Linked DNA regions of Homo sapiens: regions 1 and 2 are each linked to region 3. Evidence: promoter capture Hi-C in 16 types of primary human blood cells and fetal thymus (Javierre and others, 2016). All regions are on one chromosome and are shown on one strand. The core of a region is centred on a gene start or on the middle of the fragment in contact, and the rest is flanking DNA. Distances in the headings are between cores, read along the strand shown. Region 1 holds the start of TGFBR1 (transforming growth factor beta receptor 1). Region 2 overlaps TGFBR1 (transforming growth factor beta receptor 1). Region 3 holds the start of GALNT12 (polypeptide N-acetylgalactosaminyltransferase 12).

Region 1 (3,463 bases), core at 871-3,370, 300 kb before region 3:
GCATCATCATAACCAACAGGGGAGGCAGACAAGCTGAGGCAGTCTGGGCTTAGAGTAATAAGCACCTGGACAGCTTTGTATTTTGTGCATACCATGGAGACTGTAAACTCCTCCAGGACATGGACTGAGCAATGTTCTGTGTCTTCAACTAAGTCCACTACTGTTACTTGAATACATGAACGCTTCTTGTGCTACTTCTGGTGGAAAAGAGTGCACTGTGTTATTCAAGTTAATAGCGGTGTGGAAATGTTACCTGTGTTTCATGCCTAACTATACTGATTCTCCCAAATGTCCACACAGTTATCCTGCCTTCCTCCCTAGGCCAATGTCAAAAATCCATTGTTTCCTCTAATGCAGGCCCACGTGAAGGGACTCAACAATGTGCTAAGAGTCGGAATGAAGCCTATCTGATACTCAAATCATGAGGACAGAATCCAAAGTGGATAATAAAGACCAATTGCTCATCAGACGACTGAAGAAGAAAAATGGGCTACGCCAGATAGTATGATGTATACATATTTATATATATATATGACATACAGGTTTGGGAAACTGAGATCTGAGTGAAAATCCTAGCTTTAGCACTTAAGTTATTGGGTACTTAACGTGTCTGTACCCCACTTTGCACATCTGTAAAGTGGGGCAAATGCCACTACTCCTGGGAGTTTACTTGTGGTGATTAAATAATGTAATTATACAATAGTGTATGCATTTACATCGTAGTAATGCACAATACATAGACGGTAGCTATTAGGACTGATTATAATCGTCACCGTCAGTCTTGATTTTTTAAAAAAATTTCAACATCTTTTGTCCAGTTTCAGAAACAGAAATGTACTTTCACTGCATTTTAGTTGCTAACACTGAGGCTGTGTATTTTAGCTTCTAGTGTCTCAGTTCAGCTGCTAACGAAGTTTTTCACTCATCCCTTTGTGGATACCAACCACCTACCCCAACCTGATTTACTATTTTGAAAAATCCAGCCAACAGTCTTCCTTGAAAACCAGCTATACAGATGTCTGAATCAAACTATTAACTGTCACTCAAGAAAAGGAACAACGTGAGTGATGTTCCTTCGAGGAAATAAAAAGCGTTTAATCAATTCACAGTCGTTCCCAAAATTTCCAAAACCCGCAGAATGAGCAAACGTTCAAGTTTCCACTATGAAAACAATCCGTAGCCGTCTGGTTACTGGACTCACTTCAACACTCCCCAGACGCACGAAAGAAGAAACATTCCGCGCATCTCCGCGCTTCCTTCTTCTCACACAAAGCCCCCCTGGCTGGAGGAGCAGCCCCTTCCAGCAGGGTCGGCTCGGGTCGAGCCGGGCGGGAGTCAGGGCGGCCTGCGGACCCAGGGGTCTCACCACACGTCGCCCCCGACTCCCACTGGACGAAGCCCTAGAGGCTCGGAGCTCACACCCCGCCCGGGAGCCGCCTTCCACCCCAACCTCAAACCCCGCCCCGGGTTCGGCAGCCTCTGGCACGGACCCTCTTGGGGCGGGGGTCCCCAGAACAAGGTCACGCCGTGCCCAGGGGGCGGCGGCGGGCAGCCACGGCTCTGCCAGTCCCCGCCGGCCTCGCACTCTCCGCCCCTGGCCCTCGCCCACTCACACCCCAGAGGGCAGCCCCGGACCTCGGACGACTCCGCCCGACTCCACCTCCCCGGGGAGTCCCGAGCGGGGCGGCCTCGGGCAGCCGGACACGTCCGCCCGCGCCCGGACACACGCCCCTGCCCCGCCTCCGCTCCCCGCTTGCGGTTCGCCCGGCAGCCGCCGAGCCGCGCGGCGCCACGAGAGCCCGGCCCGGGCCCCGGCGCCGCCACCTGCGCCCCCGGCCCCGCGCCATGTTTGAGAAAGAGCAGGAGCGAGCCAGAGGCCGGGTCCGGCCCGCGCGCCCCGCAGTCGCCCGCCCGCCGCGCCGCCGCTCACCCGTCGCCCCCGGGAGCAGCGCCGCCGCCGCCGCCGCCGCCGCCGCCAGCACGAGGAGGAGCAGCCGGGGACGCGGAGCAGCGACCGCCGCCTCCATGGTCCCGCCGCCACCGCCTGTGGCCCGGCCCGGCCCGGCCGCGCCGCTGCCTCACCCCAGCAAACCTCGCCTCGCCCCACCTCCCTAGCCGCCGCGGCGGCCTCGCTCCGGCCCTTTGTAACTGCTCGGAGGACGCGCGTCCATTGGCTGCCGGGCTCCCGCCGGCCCCGCCTCCCCGCCGCCGCGAGCTGCCAAGCGGGACCCAGCCGGGAGCCCCGCCTGCGGGCCCGCCAGGCAGCCAATCCGCAGCCGCGAGCGCCGGTTTCTGGCCACGCCCCACGCTCCCCGGGGGCTGGGCCGCCAGACCCCAGCCCCGGCCCGATCGGCTCCCGGCTCCGAGAGGCCGCGTGGGGGCGGGGTCTGCCAGCCCCAGCACCGCTCAGCCGCTAGCCCCGGAGGGCCGGGTAGAGCGATGGGTGTGTCTGTGTGAGTCTCTTTCGGAAAAAGGCTGTGGCCGTTCGACGCTCTTTTCTTCTAACCTCCTCTAGGCGCGGAAGATCTGGTACTGCCTCAGCCCCACCCTGACCCCATTCACAGCTCCGCATTGGCAATCCCAGCACATGCCACCCAGATCCGCTGCAGCGCCAGGCCCCTGCATCCACTTCAACTTCCCCTCTCCAAGTCCACGCATCAACTTCAGCATTCCCCCGAAGATCCCTCCTCAGTGCCCTTCACATGCGACTCACTCTCCTATTTCCTCCTGCTCCCAGCGGTCACCCCAAACCCAGCTCCCCCACCCAGTTCCAAACCCAGAAAGTCCTCAGATCCCAGCGTCAGACCCAGATCCTGAGCCCAAACACACCCCCAAATAGCCTCCCGCCTCCCTCCAGCACAGATCCAGGATGGGGATCCAAGCCGCACTCCTCTCAAACCCCTTCCCGATCCAGGTTGGAAAGGGAGGATCCCCACCCCAACCCCTCAAAGGAGGGGTTCCCCCTTCTTAGCACCCAGCTCCCGCGGGGCGGAGGGGGAGCAGTCATCATTACTTTGAGCTGTGTCTGACACTGCTGTATAATAATCCTGAGGTGTCACTAAAAACCCAAATAAACTCTACGTTTTCATTCTGAATTCCTAATTTACTGCGAGACGCTCCACCCACCTTCCCTCTGCGACGCCAAAATGAGCTCCAGATTTGTAATTCTTCCTGTCAGACTAGTCCTTTCTTCAGACACAAACACAGCCAAGGAGGCTGTTACGTAGAACAGAGAATATTTTTCCGCAGAACCTTTTAAGGAGGAAATTTTATTTTCTGTGTCATTTGAGCTTAGAATTAAATAAACCTTGATAGCAGGAATCAGAATGGTTCTGATTAATGCCAATTTGTGCACTACTTTAGAGTCACTGGGTGAGCATTTTCCCCACCTGTGAAGGCTTCCTTCCGGGAGATGAAAAGGGAAAAGGCGTGGATATTGGAGCTGGGATCTGAGACCCGCGCG
Region 2 (3,578 bases), core at 906-3,405, 350 kb before region 3:
TCCTATATTTCCAGTAATATTTGTCTTAAAGCCCACTGTACTGATATAGACATTCCAGCTCTCTTACGATTACTGTTTGCATGTTATATTTTTCCATACTTTCACTTTACAGCTATTGGTCTTTGAATCTACAGTGTGCCTCTGTGAACACCATATAGTTTTTTCTTTTTAAATCCATCCTGACCATCTCTACCTTTTAACTATTTAGTCCATTCACATTTAATGAAATTATTGGCATGATTACTTATGGCTGCCATTTTGCTATTTGTTTTCCAAATGTCTATCATTTTGCTTCTTTCTTTCTGCCTTTTGTGTTAAATATTTCTTGGTGTACCATTTTGTTTTTTTTAATTTATTTTTAAATTGATGCTTCAGTGGTTACTCCAGGCTCTACAGCATGCATTTCAATTTATTACAATCATCTTCAAATTAGGACTAATTAATTCTAATAAGATACATCTTTGTCCCAATAGAGTTCCATTTCCTACCCACTCCTTTGTTATTAATATACACTGCACCTATATTGTAAACCCAACAGTATGGTGATGTAATTACTATATAGTCTTATGCTACTGAAAGATAACTTACATTTATTTTGGTAGGCAAATTATTTCCCCAAGATTCCCATTCTCTAGTTATTTAATCAAATACTAATCTTGGTACTGCAGTGAATGCACTTTGCAGGTAAAACTGAGGTTACTAAATAGGGTAATTATCCTGGATTATCCAGATGGCCCCCTGAGTAATCACATGGCCCCTTAAAAGCAGAAGAGGGAAGCAGAAGCATTAGAGAGATGCAGTGGAAGAGACAGTGGAGAGATGAGGCAGAAGGGGAGATCCGAGAAAAGTGCAAGGATGATTCAACCCATTGCTGCTGGTTTTGATGATGGAGGAGGGAACCACGAGCCAAAGAATTTGAGTGGCTTCTAGAAACTGACAACCACCCCTGGCCAACCTGTCTTACAACCATATGGAGCTGAATTCTGCCAACAACCTCAATGAGCTTGGAAGCCTATTCATCCGAGCCTCCAGAAAAGAATGTTGCCCAGCCAATGCCTTCATTTTGACCTTTTAAAATATGGAGCAGAGAACCATCTGAGCTATGCCTAGACTTCTGAATTATGGAATTCTGAGATCATAAATAGGTGTTGCTTTAAGCCAGGGCATTTGTAGTAATTTATGGCAGCTATACAATCATACAGTCTTTGCTAGTTGTACATATATCCACCATTTCTGGTGCTCTTCATTTCATCCTGTGGATTCAGGTTACCATCTGGTGTCATTTATTTTCTGTGTGAAGGATTTAGTATTTCTTGTAAGGCAGACGTCCATAGGCAACAAATTGTCTTAGTATTTGTCTGGGAATGTCTTTAATTTCACTTTTTTTCCAACTTTCAACAAAAGCTTCATATCCTGGTGATGTCTTTGTTATAAGGAAAAAAAAAAATCCCTAAATCCAGCCTTCAAATTGAAGTAACTATCTTTAATGTGAGAGCAATCCTATTCACAAAGCCCCTCCCCAGAGTCAATCAAGGGTTTGGGGACCACATCTCATCATTTTTCCAGTTCTCTTGTAAGCCAAGTTTTCACCCCCAGGAGACTAACAAATGTGCTGACCCAAAGGCAACAGAGATCACCTGTAGACAGGTCCATCATGCCCCAATGGAAGACCCACACCCCTAAGCATGTGGAGAAAAGCCCCCAGGCACAGAGACACACCTGCAGACAGGAGGGCACTCCCCGAACACGCTATAATATTGTAACTTGCACTAGGCAGGGTTAGAAAACTTCTAAAGACTCTTGTAACTCAAAGGTTCTAGTTGCCATCTACAGCAACTACATATGGCATGACTCATTCCAACGTATACACTTTATTTTAAAATATGCCACTGGCACTTGGGAAAAATGTAATTTATTTGCACTGCTTCCATTCTTCTACTGTAGTGTTAGGACTTAACATAAGCATCACTCTTCTATTTCCTATTTACATTCTTTTGGAATATTACTACAAATACAATATACAATTTAAAAAAACTTATGGGGAAACACAGCTTATGTTTTTTTCTCCTCTTTACAGGCTTCTCAGTATCATTCGACTTCAATGGAAATTTATATGGACATTTTCTGTACATATCTTAAAAGGCAGAGATTACACTGATAAAGCCTAAAGAATCCTGCACAAATACAATACAGAAAACAGAAAGTACAGACGATGTTATTTGGGGTACAAATATAAACAATACAGTACCATTTGAGTAACTGAGCAACATAATACCCATACTTTATAGAAATAAAACTGCAAACCTGGAGAATGCTCTGACAAATATTAAACATTATATACACAATGAGGTAAATGTACCTTGGTCTCTTGAGAGGTAATTTAAGTTTAAAGCAATTGACATTTTGAAGCATCTCCTTAACATATGAAGAAATATCAAACACCCTATTCCGTTGGCACAACGTGAAAAAGGGGTATCAAAACATGGTTCATGATATTCAGTTCACAAATCTTGTTAAAAAATAAAAACAAATTCACTGAAGTTCCTTTTAAGTTGTAATAAACAGGTTGAATGTTATTAACCATATTTTTAGAAGTTTACATTTACAAACAAGATTGCATAATGGGATTGAAAAGTTTAATGTACTGACAATCATCTTAATGTCCTAGAAGTCCAGCACTCTTGAGAGGGCCCATGGGTATTCCAGTAATCCAAAACAGAGACAAGAAGCTGCAGTACATGTCCAAAGATAATCCTTAGTATCTCAAAATATCTGAGCTGGCATTTTCTGCCAAAGTGTTAACAGAACCATTATTTGGAATCACTACCATTTGGAGCCAGAACACTGCCATGGTCAAGAAACAGTTGACTTACGATTCTTCCAGTGCAAGAATAAAAATAAGCTTTTGATGATGTGTCTAATGGGATAGTGATTTTGTTGTGCACTCTAACGATCTCTTTGCCATCTTGTTTTAATCTGACAGTTCTCAGACATAGAGAAAAAAGGTAACTCATGCATGTACTACAAAATCGCCAAGTGACCACTTACATTTTGTAATAAAACCTGAAATCTGGGATTCTTGATGGCCATGGCACTGTACACCAACTCAAGGCACTTCTTGAGCACTATCATTATTACAGCAGAATTACAGGCTCAGCTCTTCAGACCTTACCCTGTCTTATAGGCGATACAACTGGCCACTGTTTCTGGCACAACTCCACTGCCACAGGAGCCACCTTGCTGCCATCCCACTCCTCATCCATGGCTGAAGTCAAAGCAGGGGCATCCCAAGCCTCATCTGCTCAATCTCCAAACTTGGAGACCCCTCCCTTCCACCTCTAATGACTGAAGGAAATGGAAGTGGGTCCCACAACTTCCATCAGCCGTTTTACTCTAGGTCTCCAGAGCAGCCTTCAGTCAAACGGCTGTGGGGGAGGCAACGGTCTCTGCGTCAGGGACCAGCAAGCAGGAGAGCAGGTTCCAAGAAACAGCTGGAGACAGAAAGGATGGACCAGGGATGTCTATGCCTCACTAAGTCGTATTTCCCCCATCCCCATTTCTCCTGGCTACTGACAAAA
Region 3 (3,476 bases), core at 344-2,843:
CCCCAAAACAGGGAAGACAGTGGAAACAGTGGGGCAGAGGTGGGGCATCCTCATTCCATCATTCATGGTCTCTCTGGCCAAGGTACCATGGAGCAGGCCCCTAAAATCCTGAGATCAGCATGGTGCCAAGTGGGCCAGAAGGGCCATAGTCCCTCCAGACCAGTCCTACCACATTCCAGCTGAGGGGCCTTGGGTGGGTCACCTATCCTTTCCGAACCTATTTCCACACCTGTAAAGCAGGAATGGCTTGAAGGGGAGAGGAGTGGCAGGTGCCTGGTGCACACGGCAGGCTGCCACCACCAGCTCCAATGGGAACCCCCTCTCTGAGTCCTCTTTTCCTCAAAGTCTGTAAGGAAGGGGCTCAAAAAAGGACTTGGAAGATCCCTGACACTTCGAAGAAAAAGTGAGAGCCCGGGAGGCCCAGCGGCAAAGGTGGCAGCAGCCACCTGTCCTTCCTCCTGCTGCCAGCGTGTGCCCTGGATCCCCACCTAGGCAGGGGCGCAACCTGCCCAGCCAGTAGCTCCAACAGGAACTAGGCCTCTGACCACGCTGGCTCCAGTCCAGCACCACCCACAGGAGTGAGCTGGGGTGGATCACGGCCAGAAGGAGCCCTTCCCACCCCGTGCCCCTTCCCGCCTTCCTCCACCCAAAGCTCAGAAATCCAATGCCCAGGGAGAGCACAAGGAGGCTTTCTAGCGCTGAGGGGGCCTTACAGCCATCTTTCGCTTCACCTGTGGGGCGCTCCCTCGCATCTTGTTTGTCCCTTAGGCCCTGGCACACACAGAGAATGAATGGAGCCGGTCACCGCCCGGAGGAGTTGTCAGTTTCGCGGAGGCACTGCGAGGCGGGCAGAGCGGGGTTGTCCTTTGGGTGCTGGGGGGTCCTCGCCTTAAACCCTTCTGCTTAGCCCTGACCCTCACCTTTTCAGGGAGATGATAACTTCTCAAGGAGAAGGGAGCTAAGAGATCACTAACAGACTTGCCAATTTCTGGTAATTTTTTTTCTACTTTCGTCTTTTTTACTTTCTTGCCTCCCCGCCCCCATGTGAGCTCTTACACTATCGTCTTCGGAGAAAGACTCAATAAGACGCGCCATCCTGGAGACCCCAGCTCCCCGCCCTGCCACTGCTCTGATGGAGAAACTGAGGCCCGGGGCTCTGAGGGCGGGCTTCCTCCCCAGAGCTGTGCACTCACAGCGGGTTCCAGCGCTCGGGCAGGCGGCGGTGCAGTGAGATGCGGTCGCTGAGGTAGATGTTAATCTGGTGCAGCCGCACGCTCTCCTCCTGCAGCCGCAGCTCCTCGCCCTGCAGCTGCAGCCGCACCGCCTCGCCCCGCGCGCCCAGCGCGTTCGCCGGCACCGGCGGCCGCGGCATGACCGGCTCGCGCCGCCCGGGGCGCGGGGTGCGCGGGGGTCCCGGCTCGGCAGCCCCGGCCCCGGCCCCACGCTGCGCCCGCAGCACCGAGCCCAGCCCGGCCAACGCCAGTAGCGCCAGGAGCACCAACAGCGCCTCCCGGCCGCGCCGCAGTTCCCGCGGGCAGCGCCGCCGCGCCGTGCGCCCCCACATGCGCCCGCCAACTGCAGCCAGCGATCTGCGCGCCCCAAGGCGGCGGTGGAGGCCAGGACCCGGATCCCGGAACCGCCGTGCCGCCCCGCCCCCGGCCCGCCCCACCTGCGCGCCGCCCCCTTTCCGTCCAGCCCCGCGCCAGCCCAAGCGCAGCCCCCGGGGTGGCTCATTTCGGCAGGGTCTTCAAGTGGGCTGGCTGAGACTTGCATCTTCCTTCTTGGGCTATGGTGCATTATTAAAGAGATAGTGGTGGTAAAACCCTTAGCGCCTGGCATATTGTAGGCGCTAAGTGTTGGCTGAATACACCCTGCAGGGTGTTATGAATTCTACTGCCATTATCTCATCTGATCTTTACACAGTCCAATAAAACAACCATCAACTAGGATTACGAGCTCCCTTTTACAGATGAGGAGATGGAGGTGCGATGAGATCAACAGACACCACGCTGCCCCACTGACTTCTGCAGGCCCAGCCTCTGCCATACTCTTTGGAGTCCTTGAATAGCAAACCCTCGCCTGGCTCGCCTCGTGATAGCTCTGTGACCTCTGAGGCTAGGAGCAAAAGGCCATGAAGGCTGTACATGATAGTTCACACCTGTAATCCCAGGCCGAGATAGGAGGATCACTTGAAGCCAGGAGCTTAAAACGAGACTGGTCAACATAGCAAGACTCCCATCTCTACAGAAAAATTTCAGAATTAGCCATGCATGGTGGCACGTGCCTATAGTGCCAGCTACTCAGGATGCTGAAGCAGGAGGATTGTGTGAGCCCAGGAATTGGAGGTTACCGTGAACTATGCGCCACTGCGCTGCAGCCTGGATGACAAAGCGAGATCCTGTTTCTATTAAACAACAACCAAAAAAGGCCATGAAGCTGCCGCCCTGTTCATGAGATCACTGCTGTGGGAGCCTTGAGCTGCCAGGGACGAAGTAAGTCTAATGGAGTAGACAAATATTAAAAAGATAATTAGAATTGTGTTAAGTATTTTGAAGAAGAATTACAGGGCGCTAAAAGGGCTTAGAATAGTAGAACTTGATCTAGTTTGGGGGTTTTGGAAAGCTTCTCTGATGAAGTAATGTCTACACAGATATCTGAATGTAAAAGTGATAGCAGAGATTTCAAATCATATCTTAAATTAATCTGGAACTCCCTCTGCTGGTGTCTAGCTCAGGGAAAAGAATCATTCTGTATCCCCTGTAGAAGGATAGAGTGTAAGCTCTATTTGTTGTTGTTTGTTTTACCATGGGAAGTTGGTCCAAAGCTTTTTATCAAATATTCTCAAGGAGACCAGAAGCCCAGAAAGTTTAAAAAGCACAAATCTGGTCCAATTATCTCATTGATAAATGCGGGGTCTGAGACACAGGGTGGGGAGAGGACCTTGAACTTGGCGGCTCAGGTAGAGGTAGAATCTGACTTGCTGTTGTCTTCATACAGCCTTTGGCTACTGGTATCCCCAGAGGAAATCTCCCTCAGGTTGCAGGAGGGGGGTGGGTTTTGGGATGAACCATGCAAAGCAGCTCCCACTCAGGACAACCTGCTGCTAATATTAGACTAGAGGGAAGTGGCTCTTCCCACAGTGCTCAGGGCCCCGCCTGCTTCCCACGCAGAATGGAGGCTGCTGGTTAATGCCAGAAGGCGGTTGTGTTAGGTAGGTCTGGACCTGAGCCCTTTGGCCTCTGTTCAGACACCCAACACATTTAAGATCTGCGGTCAGATTAGAAAACAGACAAGGATTACAATTCATAATGTCTTGGATCCGCTTGCCAAATTGGAATGCTTCTCAATAGAGGTTCAGATACAGAGAAAAGAGAAATGCAATTAGGCCTTACAAGACATGGACTTAAGCCCCAGGTAACAGATAAAAGCTATTGTTTACTGAGCACACACTGTGTGCTGTAAACTGCTGGACTTTC

The links. Contacts are between HindIII fragments. The CHiCAGO score rates a contact against its expected background, and 5 or more counts as called.
Region 1: a contact is called between the fragment with the promoter of TGFBR1 here and the fragment with the promoter of GALNT12 in region 3, in 15 of 17 cell types (M0 macrophages, M2 macrophages, M1 macrophages and 12 more). The highest score is 30.8, in M0 macrophages.
Region 2: a fragment that was not itself captured here is called in contact with the fragment with the promoter of GALNT12 in region 3 in 1 of 17 cell types (M0 macrophages); the score reaches 5.3 in M0 macrophages.

Annotation. Positions count from the first base shown.
Region 1 is chr9:99,103,770-99,107,232 of GRCh38, reverse strand. It overlaps TGFBR1 (transforming growth factor beta receptor 1), which reads right to left and starts at 2,120. Exons shown (of 9, transcript NM_004612.4): 1 at 1,931-2,120. The coding sequence starts at 2,027. RefSeq lists silencers at 1,393-1,902, 1,993-2,592. The HindIII fragment of the contact is 12,693 bases long and covers 1-3,463 here.
Region 2 is chr9:99,151,968-99,155,545 of GRCh38, reverse strand. TGFBR1 (transforming growth factor beta receptor 1) reads right to left here. Exons shown (of 9, transcript NM_004612.4): 9 at 1,354-3,578. Among named protein-coding and RNA genes, the nearest start is that of TGFBR1, 49 kb to the right of the region's middle. The HindIII fragment of the contact is 1,498 bases long and covers 1,407-2,904 here.
Region 3 is chr9:98,805,787-98,809,262 of GRCh38, reverse strand. It overlaps GALNT12 (polypeptide N-acetylgalactosaminyltransferase 12), which reads right to left and starts at 1,593. Exons shown (of 10, transcript NM_024642.5): 1 at 1,194-1,593. The coding sequence starts at 1,564. LOC124902229 (a long non-coding RNA gene) reads left to right here and starts at 1,683. Exons shown (of 2, transcript XR_007061689.1): 1 at 1,683-2,492. RefSeq lists silencers at 1,452-1,521, 1,622-1,711. The HindIII fragment of the contact is 2,789 bases long and covers 1-2,624 here.